Linked DNA regions of Homo sapiens: regions 1 and 3 are each linked to region 2. The links are contacts of gene promoters, found by promoter capture Hi-C in blood cells and fetal thymus (Javierre and others, 2016). All regions are on one chromosome and are shown on one strand. The core of a region is centred on a gene start or on the middle of the fragment in contact, and the rest is flanking DNA. Distances in the headings are between cores, read along the strand shown. Region 1 overlaps GALNT6 (polypeptide N-acetylgalactosaminyltransferase 6). Region 2 holds the start of CSRNP2 (cysteine and serine rich nuclear protein 2). Region 3 overlaps ATF1 (activating transcription factor 1).

What was found. The method cuts DNA at HindIII sites, captures the fragments that hold promoters and counts their contacts. A CHiCAGO score of 5 or more calls a contact.
Region 1: a contact is called between a fragment that was not itself captured here and the fragment with the promoter of CSRNP2 in region 2, in 1 of 17 cell types (erythroblasts). The highest score is 5.4, in erythroblasts.
Region 3: a contact is called between a fragment that was not itself captured here and the fragment with the promoter of CSRNP2 in region 2, in 1 of 17 cell types (M1 macrophages). The highest score is 5.4, in M1 macrophages.

The regions. Positions count from the first base shown.
Region 1 is chr12:51,363,699-51,367,840 of GRCh38, forward strand. GALNT6 (polypeptide N-acetylgalactosaminyltransferase 6) reads right to left here. Exons shown (of 12, transcript NM_007210.4): 5 at 1,732-1,881; 6 at 423-657. Among named protein-coding and RNA genes, the nearest start is that of CELA1, 19 kb to the left of the region's middle. The HindIII fragment of the contact is 1,990 bases long and covers 1,039-3,028 here.
Region 2 is chr12:51,080,758-51,085,382 of GRCh38, forward strand. CSRNP2 (cysteine and serine rich nuclear protein 2) reads right to left here and starts at 2,839. Exons shown (of 5, transcript NM_030809.3): 1 at 2,582-2,839. RefSeq lists a silencer at 2,401-2,890 and an enhancer at 3,264-3,890. The HindIII fragment of the contact is 4,493 bases long and covers 828-4,625 here.
Region 3 is chr12:50,791,146-50,795,399 of GRCh38, forward strand. The region is part of intron 2 of ATF1 (activating transcription factor 1); the gene reads left to right. Among named protein-coding and RNA genes, the nearest start is that of ATF1, 29 kb to the left of the region's middle. The HindIII fragment of the contact is 1,529 bases long and covers 615-2,143 here.

The sequences.
Region 1 (4,142 bases), core at 784-3,283, 280 kb after region 2:
TATTCCACAATGGCCTCCATCACATCTCTTGCCCCATCTGCAAGCATGGGCCACTCCTTTTATGTGTAGGGAGGAATAAACTAAAGAATGTATAGCCCTTAGTTCAGTGCCTGGCACATGGTAAGTGGTGAATAAGAGCAAACTGTCATGGTGAATAAGAGCAGTGCCACGGTTAGGGCCAGACAGTCCGGGAAGTGTGTCCTTGCTCCACTGTTGCTAGCTGCATGATCTTAGGTCAGTGTTTATCACTATGAGCCTTAGTATTCTTAGTATTGTACCTGCTTCATAGGGAGTGAGGATTAATCACAATATGTCAAGTGCTTGATAGAGCACCTAACAAATGTTGATGTGAGATGGCACAGGTTCCTGGAACTGGGTAGGACTGGGGCCAGGTTGGGGGCTCACCAGGCTGCGGTCCTTACTTGATGGGGTAGGTTTCATCCTTGCGCCTCTGCTTCTCATGTGGAGGAAGTGTTTCCCAGCCGAAGGTCAGGCTCCAGTCAAAGTTGCCTCGGCTATGGACTCTGCCCCTCTGGACGGGCTTGGCGAACTCAAAAGTATTAAGGTCGATGGTGACGATGTCTGGGCTCACCACCACTGTCTTGTCCTCAGCGATTCGAGCCAGGAGGGGCTCCAGCCAGCCGTGGAAGCACTCACCTGCAGGCCCCAACCAGGAGGCAGCAGTCAGGGCCCTGCCCACAGCAGAGCCCAAGCTGCATCCTGGAGGGAATGCCCAGGAGGATAAGAGACAGTCCACCTACTCCTGGGTTACAGGCAGCAAGCCCCACAGCTACAGGGAGCACACAGAATTTCCTAAAACCCTTCTACCACCCCTCTACCCCCAAAGGCGGAGGCAGCTTTGGCAGGGAGAATGGAGGTCTCAGGGGAGTAACATGGTCAACTCAGATGACCCAAAAGCACAGGGAGGCCCTGGATGGTATCTTCCGGGGTTCCAGCCGATCCATTGGCCCAGCCCTCCGGGCCCACGTGTGGATTTCAGAAGAGGGTGTTCCCCCTCCCAGGGGCATCCGCATGTCAAGCTTCAGCCCTAATTGTAGAAGAATAATCTCTTTCATTTGTCTAGCTCCTTGAGATTTTCAGTGAGCTTCTGCACGTATTATTACTTCATTCGGCCCTCAGAGTAATATTTCTGTTCAGTAAGGTTAGTATCCTCATTCCTATTTTATAAATGAGGAAACTGAGGCTGTTAGTGGGGCAGGGTCAGAATGCAAACCAAGAATTCTGACTCCAAGACTAGAGCTTCCCCTAATATATATCACCACTCCTAGGGAAAATATTTCATCCTCCACAACAGTGGGGAAGTGTTTTGGTTTTGGGCAAGAAGGAGGCCTTCCTGGCTCCATGTTGCCCTAGAAGAAAGCCCCAAACAAGCCAGTTCTGTCATAGCAGGAGGCCTCTCTGAGGGGCCAAGCTCAGAGCAAGGTGCAGATGGGAGTACAGGGAGGGATGAATGTCCGGGGCCCCGGTGATCACTGGAAATCACTTCCAGTGATTTTGGGGTCACCAGTTGTTTTAGGGATGTTTGTCTTCTTGATGAAACATCCTTGGGATTGGGGTGAGAAAGGGGTAGAGGCACCTGGAGTGGGTCCCAAGCCTCCTTCACTCCCGGAAGAGAGAACAGGAAGGGGCCTTGGGGAGGCTGTGGCCCTGGCTCATTCTAGCAGGGAGGGAGCCTCCAGGTTACACCCAGGCCGGTGCCCTGGTACTCACAGTGGGCATCCAGGAACGTGAGCACCTCCGCCTGTGCCACGCTGGCCCCCAGCAGCCGGGCGGTGATCAGCCCCTTCCGCTCCTCCTGCCGCACCACCCTCACCACCTGCAGCTGCTTCACGTACTGCTCCAGCTTCTCCTTTAGGTGCTCTGGAAGGGACAGTGTCATTGTGGCCAGTCCACCACTTTGCTGTATACCCAATCCCCTGTGGGCACCAAGCTAGGGGCTCTCAGGCCTCTAGCAGGCCTGAATTTTAAACCCCCAACACCTGCTGTACTGAGCCATTCCACAGAAGCCGGAGCTGGGGAAGGAGGTTAACAGGGAAGATGGGGAGAGGAAGAAAGAAGCCCTGTCTGTGGTCAAAACTGCCTCACCAGGGCTCTGGCTCTGTGGTGCTAGATCCTATGCCTGTTCACCTGGGCACCCTCTCTAATGTCAGGGACAGCACCTCAGAGTTGTGTTTCTGTGGTCACGTATCAAGTACAAACTTTTTGTTGTTGTTGTTGAGATGGAGTCTCATTCTGTCACCCAGGCTGGAGTGCAATGGCGTGATCTTGGCTCACTGCAACCTCCACCTCCTGGGCTCAAGTGATTCTCCTGCCTCAGCCTCCTGAGTAGCTAGGACTACAGGTGTGTGCAACCATGCCTGGCTCATTTTTACATTTTTAGTAGAGATAGCATTTCACCATATTGGCCAGGCTGGTCTCGTACTCCTGGCCTCAAGTGATTCGCCTGCCTTGGCCTCCCAAAGTTCTGGGATTACAGGCATGAGCCACCACGCCCGGCCCAAGTACAAAATTCTGACAGAGGCTCTCAGATGCCTCCCTCAGTTTCTCCACCCTCTCAGCCACCATCTTCCAGAGCTGCAATTCCACAGCTCCATTGCACGGTTGTTTTCCAGTGTCTAGGATTCCCTGTCTCCCAGGCTCTTCACGGTAACGTCGATGGGTGGGCATACACAAATGGTGACTCCTTGCTTGCTGGATCAGCAGCAGGACATCTGACTCTAATCCCCTTTGTAACCTCCTCTGCAGATAGAATTCTTTAAGGTGAAAACATGCCCAGCAGCTTTTTAATTATATTAAGAAAATACTTGCACCAAGCACCTACCACGGACCAGGCACAGTGGCGAGCCCAGCCGGCTTGACCATTTGTCCTAAGGAACAAACCACCCAGAAGCAAGGCTGACCAGGAAACAGGCAATTCCAGGGCAGGTGATCCATGATCTAACAGAGGTAGTGCTGGGGTGTGGGTCCCAAAGAAGGGCCAAATCTCCTGGATTTGAGGAGCGGGGAAAGCTTTTTGAAGGGAAGATGTCTCTACTGAGACCTCCAGCTCCTTTCAAAGAAGAGTTTTAGTTCATGGCCCTGTAATTTAGTCTGAAATCCTCAGAGCATTAACAATAGCTCTATTCTGGCTGGGCACGGTGGCTCACTCCTGTAATCCCAGCACTTTGGGAGGCCAAGGCAGATGGATCACTTGAGCCAAGGAATTTGAGACCAGCCTGGCCAACATGGTGAGACCCTGCCACTATTAAAAATACAAAAATTAGGCCAGACGCGCTGGCTCATGGCTGTAATCCCAGTACTTTGGGAGGCGGAGGCAGGTGGATCACCTGAGGTTGGGAGTTCGAGACCAGCCTGACCAACATGGAGAAACCCTGTCTCTACTGAAAATACAAAATTAGCTGGGCACGCATGCTTGTAATCCCAGCTACTCGGGAGGCTGAGGCAGGTGAATCGTTTGAACTTGGGAGGCAGAGGTTGCAGTGAGCCGAGATTGCACCATTGCACTCCAGCCTGGGCAACAAGAGCGAAACTCCGTCTCAAAAAAACCAAAAACAAACAAACAAAAATTAGCCAGGTGTGGTGGCGCACACCTGTAAACCCAGCTACTCGGGAGGCTGAGGCAGGAGAACTGCTTGAACCCAGGAGGTGGAGGTTGCAGTGAGCTGAGATCATGCCACTGCACTCCAACCTGAGTGACATAGCAAGACTTGTCTCAAAACAAAAAACAAACGAAGAATAGCTCTATTCTGAAGCAGTCCATCTTGAAACATACCGAATTCCAAACCTTACTATGTTTTACTAACTGCCATTTTGGTTTATCTCTGCCACGGTTCTGTTCTGTGCAGAATGGAGTTGCCTGCAGTTTCAGATGTGGGGGACAGATGTGACAATTGTGTGTCCTTTTCCTTTTGGACTGTGGGATCAGCCCAGAGCTTGGGCCTTGCTCTGAATGCAGCATTCTACAAACGGCAGGTCCTGAAATTAAGCAGCTTAGGGGGTTGCATGCAATTGATCTCCCACAAATGCACGCACACAATAACCCAGCACTGAGCTGGAGTGTGTGCCGGTGTGGGTGAGGTAGGTGTCTTCATGGTGACTTCTTTATTTAATCTTCTCTATGA
Region 2 (4,625 bases), core at 1,589-4,088:
GATTATGTCCCAACAACAATGTAAGATTAAATTTCAACCCAGCTCCCCTTGTCCAACTCTCTGATATGAACTCGACTTTTAGATGAAGATGTTCACTGGGCACCAAGAACAAACCTCCTGTTCACTTCCATGGTGCCCTGAAGAAATCCTTCTTTGGGAGGCTGAGGCAGGAGAATTGCTTGAGGCCAGGAGTGCAAAACCAACTTGGCCAACATAGCAAGACCCTGTCTCTGTATTTTCAAAAAATTGGCCCGGCATGGTGGCACATGCCTGTAATCCTAGCACTTTGGGAGGCCAAGGCGGGCAGATCACTTGAGGCCAGGAGTTCAAGACCAGCCTGGCCAACATGGCAAAACCCCACCTCTATTAAAAATACAAAAACTAGCTGGGCATGGTGGTGTGAGCCTGTCGTCTCAGCTACTTGGGAGGCTAAGGCGGGAGGATTGCTTGAACCCAGGAGGCAGAGGTTGCAGTGAGCTGAGATTGTGCCACTGCACTCCAGCCTGGGTGACAGAGCCAGACCTGCCTAAAAAAATAAAATAAAATAAATAAAAATAAATTTTTTAAAAAAATAAATCTTTCTTTGCAATAGTAACAGAATAGTTTCCATACTTTCCAATTCATCAAATTAATCTTTCAAACTACAACTAGAAAAATCAGTCATTCCTACCTCTCTCAATTATTCATTGGTAGAGGATCAATGCCTGTGTTCAAGAGATACACTTGTAAGTTTTAGCACCTAGGAATGCAGGTAAAAACCGACAGTTAACTGTCAAAATGACCAACTCAACAAATGCTTTTGGAGAAAATAATGCAACTCTCTTTAAAGCTTTTAAATGCCAGTGAAATGAAAGGTCAGCTGACACTTTCTGGCTACATGTCTAATGGTCTTTTCTCAAGAGTTTCTAGCTGAACATTTTCCAAAGTTATATGAAATAGTTAAGATCCAGAGCACAGAATACATCAGGCTAGCACCTAATAAACAGTTCCACCAGAATATGTATATTTTAGTACTAGATCTAAGTTTTTTTCAGGCCTAAAAGGATTCCTATAACCACCAAAACAAACAAACAAACAAACAACAACAACAACAAAAAAAAACAGCATATGTGAGAGCAGCAAGAGGGACTGCCCAGGCAAAATTTTCTGGAAGAATCTATTTGCAAAGTTTAGGTAATATAAGTCTCTTTCTTAAATGAGTCCAAAGTAATAAGCTACATCTCACAGGAGAAAGCCTCTTCACTTGACTGGAACCCAACCTTCTGCTAAAGGTCAAGGAATCAAAACCTCCAGTAAGATGGTCAGGGCTACCATCTGTAGCTGGGTTGGAAGGAAGGCTTGCTGCTGTGTTACCATAAACCTGAATAAAATGACCTGCCCTGTTTCTCCTTTTACAAGATACTGTGGTTGTTTCTCATATACCATGAATTTCATGGATCCATGTGTCTTTGTGATCACCAGGATCATGAACTTACAAAGCACCCAAGTGAAAACCCCCCGCTTAAGTTAGGTGTTTAAAGAAAGCCGTGCACTCACCACCCCCACTCCCCGATTTTTACCCATTCACTAACACAAGGTTAGAATTTTCCATGCCTAAACTACCATCGTGTGGAAGACAGATCTTTGTGGGAACTGGAACATGATGCTGCATTAACTCTCAAGGATATCCAGTCATTTATAACACCGGCACAACCAACATCCTGGCTTTGTGGATTTGCAAGACAGAAAGCCAGTGAAGAAAAAAATCTGAACTATGAATTTACCTTGAACTGAAAACTGCAGGACAAGGGGACAGTGTTGTCTTGTGGGGATAACTTCTAGCATTTCATTCTGAAGAACAGTTTGTGTGTCACACTGCCACTCTCAACCCCTTTAAAAGGATGAATCAAGACCACAGCACTAAAAGGGACGGGTGGCAGTTGGCTGCGTAATTGGGCCTATGAAAAAAGATCAAGCTAGCAACCAGGGCAATTGATGCTTTCATTTTCCCACACGACGCCAGAAATATGGGAGACATCAGGAACCGGAGCGAAGGGACATGTCAAGTCACCAGTTCCTTTTAATGAACACTCCTGCCGAACCCTTCAGCTCTCGGCCCACTTCCCTCTGATTCCTGCTAACCTTCCCGCTCATTCCAATCCTCTGCAGCCCCTACCCAGCCTTCCGCATCCCTTCCTGCCTGCTACTCACAAATTCCCAACCACTCCTCCCACATTTTCCTCTGTTCCCCCTCCCCTTCCTTCACTTTCCTCCATCCTACATCATTCTCCACTCCATTCCGAACTCAATCCTCATCTGCAATCCTGCAGGCTTCCAAGCCGCCCATCGGTCTCCCGCGAGCTGCCCCCGCAGTCCGGGCCAGCGTCCTCGGTGCCCCTCGCTCCCACGCCTCTTCCCGACTCGGTTCCTTCCCAACGGCACCCGACCTCCCCGCCCCCCGACCGCTCCCGTCCGAGCCTCTCATTTCTGACCCCTCCATCCGCACGGCTCTGGGCTTGACCACTCCTCCACGGCCGCCCGAGGGCCGATCCCGAGAAAGGACGAGGCGGCACCCTCCGCCCCGCACCCCTAGGCCCATTACCGGCCCCGCCGCAGCTGCCTCCTCCCGTGATGGTCTCTGCCGCCCCCGCTGCCGCCGCCGCCCTAGCCCGGTGGGAAGGAGGGAGGAGCGAGCGAGTCCCGGGCCCCGCGGCGACGGCCGGGGAGCTCCCAGGGCGGCAGGGCGGGGAGGGAGGGCGGTGGGCAGCCCAGCCGGCAGGCAGAGAGGGCCGGGCGTCTCCGGCAACTCGGGCGCCCCCGGCAGCAGACGCCCAGAACCGCCCCGGCTCCGGCTAACAATAGGATCCGGCCGCAGCGCACTGGCTCTTATAGGCGCCGGCACGTCCTGACCGAGACCCGGGGCTGGCTGGGAAATGGAGTCTACGGGCCGGCCCACACCCAGCAGCATGCCGGGAGTTGTAGGCGGTAACTGCTGCAAAGCCGAAGCCGGCGCGCAAACCGGCTCCCGAGGCGGCAGCTCTGCTGCAACCTTTTAATGGGGGAAGAGAGGAGACTCAGCTACAGATCTTAAATAAACGAATTCTCCTCCAAAGCTCCCTTTTTCTTTCGTGTCCTGACCACACGCCATTAGGAACATGATCCCCCCTTCTCCTCGCTCATGGGGTCTTAGTCTTCAGCAATATGACTTATTGCAGCCTGCGCAGGTTATAAAGAATACAAGCAATATCTTGAGTTATCTACTTATATGAGGGAGTGCTTTGAGTGTTTTCTTTAAAAAAAAAAAAATTGCTGCCGGGCGCGGTGGCTCACGCCTGTAATCCCAGCACTTTGGGAGGCCGAGGTGGGCGGATCACGAGGTCAGGAGATCGAGACCAACCTGGCTAACAAGGTGAAACCCCGTCTCTACTAAAAAATACAAAAATTAGCCGGGCGTGGTGGCGGGCGCCTGTAGTCCCAGCTACTCGGGAGGCTGAGGCAGGAGAATGGCGTGAACCCGGGAGGCGGAGCTTGCAGTGAGCCGAGATCGCGCCACTGCACTGCAGACTGGGCGAAAGAGCGAGACTCCGTCTCAAAAAAAAAAAAAAAAAAATCTTCTCAACTTTGCAAACTAATTTATTTATTTAAATAGAAAAGGGGTTTTCGCCATGTTGCCCCGGCTGGTCTTGCACTCCTGGGCCCAGGCGATCCGCCCGCCTCGGCCTCCCAAAGTGCTGGGATTATACGCATGAGCCACCGCGCCCTTCCGCAACCTATTTTTAAGAAAGGGCGCCAGGCGCGGTGGCTCATGCCTGTAATCCCAGCACTTTGGGAGGCCGAGGCGGGCGGGTCATGAGGTCAGGAGTTCGAGACCAGCCTGACCAACATGGTGAAACCCTGTCTCTACTAAAAATACAAAAATTAGCCGAGGGTGGTAGCACGTGCCTTTAATCCCAGCTCCTCGGGAGGCCGACCCAGGAGAATGGCTTGAACCCGGGAGGCGGAGGTTGCAGTGAGCCAAGACTGCACCATTGCCCTCCAGCACGGTCAACAAGAGCGAAACTCCGTCTCAAAAAAAAAAAGAAAAAGAAAAAGAAAAAAAAGGGGAAAACCAAGATTAAGAAGTCAAAAGTTGTATGTGATTTGCCAAGGACACATAGCCTTGGTTTCTTCTTTGTTGTCTTTCCCTTGAACTATAAGGCTCGGCAAGCTCGAGCTGCATTCTCTTGTCCCCCGACCCCCACCCCGCCCCCTCATTTTGTTCTGTCATCTTGTTTGCTTCTACTTTCCCCCTTCCATACTCTGCTTGAATACACTGGCCTCATTGCAGCTCCTTCAACTGGGCAATCATTCTCTTACCTCAGGGCCTTTTGTCTGGCTTCCACCAGCTAGCCACATACTTACTCCCTCACATAATATCTGCTCGAATGTCCCCATATCCGAGATCTTCCCTAACCATATTTCTTTTTCCCTGCATTAAGAGACAGGATTTCACTCTGTCACCCAGGCTGGAGTGCAGTGGCGCAATCACGGCTCACAGCAGCCTCAAACTCCCGGGCACAAATGCCTAACCATATTTCTAAAATGGTGCTTCTCCTTAGTTTCTATCCCTGTGCCTTATATTTCTTCTTAGCATCCACGTATTTGTT
Region 3 (4,254 bases), core at 129-2,628, 290 kb before region 2:
GGCTGGATAAATTTTATACAGAATTTCATGACCCTAGGCATTTTGAGGGATGATGAGACTGGGGTTTGTTTAATCTAGTCTTGGGATGAGGAAAAGAACTTTCAGTGAAAGAAGAAAGGGAACAGGAAGGCTGGGTGCGGTGGCTCACGCCTGTAATCCTAGCACTTTGGGAGGCGGAGGTGGGCGGATCACCTGAGGTCAGGAGTTCGAGACCAGCCTGGCCAACATGGGGAAACCCCGTCTCTACTAAAAATACAAAAATTAGCTGGGCGTGGTCACGCATGCCTGTAATCCCAGCTACTCTGGAGGCTGAGGTAGGAGAATCGTTTGAACCCAGGGGTGGAGGTTGCAGTGAGTCTAGATCGTGCTACTTCACTTCAGCCTGGGAAGGAGTGAAACTCAGTCTCAAAAAAAAAAAAAGAAAAACAGGGAAAGCAGTATTCTTGGAGCCCAATGTGAAGAAGGAGAACAGGGGAGCAGGAAGGAAGCTTACTTTCAAGTCCTGAGAAGTAGTCCAGGATTTTATTTTGTGATTTAAATCCAAGAGTAATGGTATGGACCAGAGTAGTCCAGAGGAAGGCATGAGATCTCTGTTAACTGAAAATATTTGAGAAAGCTTTTTGGAAGAGGTAGGACCTGAGGTGAGCCTGGAGGGATGATGAGTGGACTTTTCTTAGTTTAGCATTTTATCATGGTATTTCCATGAAACCGCATCTGATTTCAACAGAAATAAATTACAATTTCATGATTCAGTCATTTACTTGAAATATATATATATATTTTTTCAAGATGCTGCCCGAAGTTGGTGTTTCACTCACTTTTTGTCTCTTGGTTTCTTGGTTAGTTTTCAACCATATCTCTTCAGAATAGCATGTGCTAAAGATTCTCCATGTTTTTGCACAATCAGTTCCTCTGCCTAAAATACCTTCCAGTCCCCTAACTCCTGCCCCTCCATACATACCCTCAGGTAATTGTTAATTATTCAAAACCCAGATGAAATAACACCCTTTCTTTGCTCCCACAGAACAGTACTTTGTAATTTTCCTCTATTATAACTCTTACTCTATTTGTTATAGTTAGTTTGTACTCTCAATCCCTAGTTCAGCCTCTGGTCAATAGAAGGTACCTAATGTTTGGTTAATGATGCGATTAAATATAATCAGCTCTGAAATGTGTTTCCAGTGTTAAGAACTCAGCTATCTTATGTGCATAGGTACAATATATATTTTGTTAATTGAATTTGTATTTGTTCTATTGATGTCATTAAATGGATCTGCGCCAGTGACAATTATACGTCTTCCTGGAGAGCAAGTACAGATTCAGGGGGTCATCCAGACAGCCCAGTCTTCTGTAATTCACCCACCACATGTGCAAATGATACAGAAATTTGAAGACTTAGTGGTCGAGAGTTGGAACTTTTATACCCTGAGTCTTCAGATACATTTCAGTTGCTGTACCTATAATATATAAACCAAGATAAAGTTGTCTTACAAATTAGACTGCAGACCAAATCAGGCAAATAGAAAAGTTTTAGAATTTCTAGTTTCATGTATATAATACCTAGTGAAAATAGAAGACAATTTTAGGGAAAGTTATTGCTTATGATTTAAGGAAATGAGGGACTTTTTTTTTTTAAAGGGAAAGCACCCTTTTATCCCAGGTATTTTCTATATGCTTTATGGAGTTAGTACCTACCTACCACATGCTTTATGGAGGTCAAATAAAAGAGTTCTCTTGTAGTAGAGGAAAGTTCTTATTTGTATTTATCTACCTTCATATTAACACCTTACAAAAGTACGAAAGAAAGAGCCATCCTAGATTCCTTTTCTTTCTACTTTTCCCATTTTATAGTCCCAGAATACCTTTGGTCATCTCTCGTTTTTAGAAGCAGCTCTCCTAGAAGAAAAGCTATATTCCTCCTTTCTTCTCCTGATTATGGCAATGTTGTAAAAACTAGAGCTGCATCTTTATGTGGTACTCCCATGTGAAAGGAGGTGGCTGCATGGATTTTTTTAGTGTTTATATGGAAATTTTAGTCTTATTTGCTGGTGCTGTTATTAAAGATAAATTTTTGATTTTAATTACAAGTAATTCCTTAGTTTTACAATTTATTTTCTTAAGTTCAGTGGAAGGCTTTGGAGTAAGCTTAGGAACAGACAGTGTAGTTAAAGAATTAGATTAGAAATGAAGTATTTTATGGCCAGGTGCGGTGGCTCATACCTGTAATCCCAGCACTTTGGGATGCTGAGGTGGGCGGATCACGAGGTCAGGAGTTCGAGACCAGCCTGGCCAACATGGTGAAACCCCATCTCTACTAAAAAATACAAAAATGAGCAAGGCATGGTGGCAGGTGCCTGTAATCCCAGCTACCCAGCTACTTGGGAGGCTGAGGCAGGAGAATCGCTTGAACCCGGGAGGCAGAAGCTGCAGTGAGCCAAGATTGTGCTATTGCACTCCAGCCTGGGCGACAAGAGCAAGACTCCATCTCAAAAAAAAAAAAAAAAAATTTATGATGCTTGAGGAAAAGAAAAGTGACAGATTTTTCTTAATTATTGGTTATTTCTTAATTATTATTGGGTTATGACTAATTCTTTTCTGTATAATGATATAGATTTAATATGAAATATAAATGAGTAGTTATATACTAGAACTCATTTTTGAAGGAAATAACATATAAAAGAAGCCTCTCTGGAAATTTCATGTCTAAATAGTTTAGGGGAAGGCTTTCTATAGATAGTAACTAATGTGGAGAATTGATTTCTTATGTCCCTTCTAAAGGCCTGTTTGGGTTATTTTTTATTTATTTTTATTTTTATTTTTTTTGAGCGGGAGCCTCGCTGTGTTGCCCAGGCTGGAGTGCAGTGGCGCGATCTCGGCTTACTGCAAGCTCCACCTCCCAGGTTCACGCCCTTCTCCTGCCTCAGCCTCCCGAGTAGCTGGGACTACAGGCGCCTACCACCAGGCCCGGCTAATTTTTTGTATTTTTAGTAGAGACGGGGTTTCACCGTGTTAGCCAGGATGTTCTCAATCTCCTGACCTCGTGATCCACCCACCTCGGCCTCCCAAAGTGCTGGGATTACAGGCGTGAGCCACCGCGCCTGGCCTGGGTTATTTTATTTTTAAAAATTAAGATGAAGTCGGCCAGGCACAGTGGCTCACACTTGCAATCCCAGCACTTTGGGAGGCTGAGGCAGGTGGATCATGAGGTCAGGAGTTTGAGACCAGCCTGACCAACATGGTGAAACCCCATCTCTACTAAAAATACAAAAATTAGCTGGGCGTGGTGGCACGTGGCTGTAATCCCAGCTACTCAGGAGGCTGAGGCAGGAGAATCACTTGAACCCAGGAGGTGGAGGTTGCAGTGAGCCAAGATCGTGCCACTGCACTCCAGCCTGGGCGACACAGTGATACTCCATCTCAAAAAAAAAAAAATTCAGATGAAGTCGGATATCACAATCTAACTTTGGACAAATGTTGGAAAGTTTTAATACGCTTAAAAAATTGAGGCCAGACATGGTGACCCATACCTGTAATCCCAGCACTTTGGGAGGCCTGCTTGAGCCCAGGAGTTTGACACCAGCCAGGGTAACATAATGAGACCCTGTCAGAATAAAAAAAAATGAATTAGCTGGGCATGGTGGTGTGCACCTGTAATCCTAGCTACTCAGGAGGCTCAGGCTGGAAGATTGCTTGAGCCCAGGAAGGCGACGCTACAGTGAGCTGTCATTGCACCACTGCACTTCAGCCTGGGTGACAGAGTGAGACCCTGTCTCAAAAATAAAAAAATTAAAAATATTTAAAAAAAAATTGAAAACAACTTGTTTTCTCAATTGTAAAATATTGCTATAACTTGCATATTATATTGATGTAGTTTATAAAAATTAACATTGTATGCATGCCAAGTGTTGCATGTATTAACTTGTGAAATGAGATAAAATTGAATCATACAGATTTTAAAATGGCATATATTTATACCTGCCATTGCCAGTGACCTCCACCTTGCTAAATCGAATGGTCTGTTCTCAGTCTTTATTTTATCTCAGCTTGTAAACAGCATTGGACATGGTTGATCATTCTTTTCTCCTCAGTATGCTGTCTTCACTAGTTTTCCATGGACAGCTCAATCATTTGGTTCTCTTCTTTACTGGTGACTCCTTAGTCTCATTTGCTGGTTCCTCCTCTTCATCCAGTCTCTTAGTGTTCCTGAGGTTAGTCCTCAGTCCTCTTCTATTTACCCCTATGAGCTCATCCAGT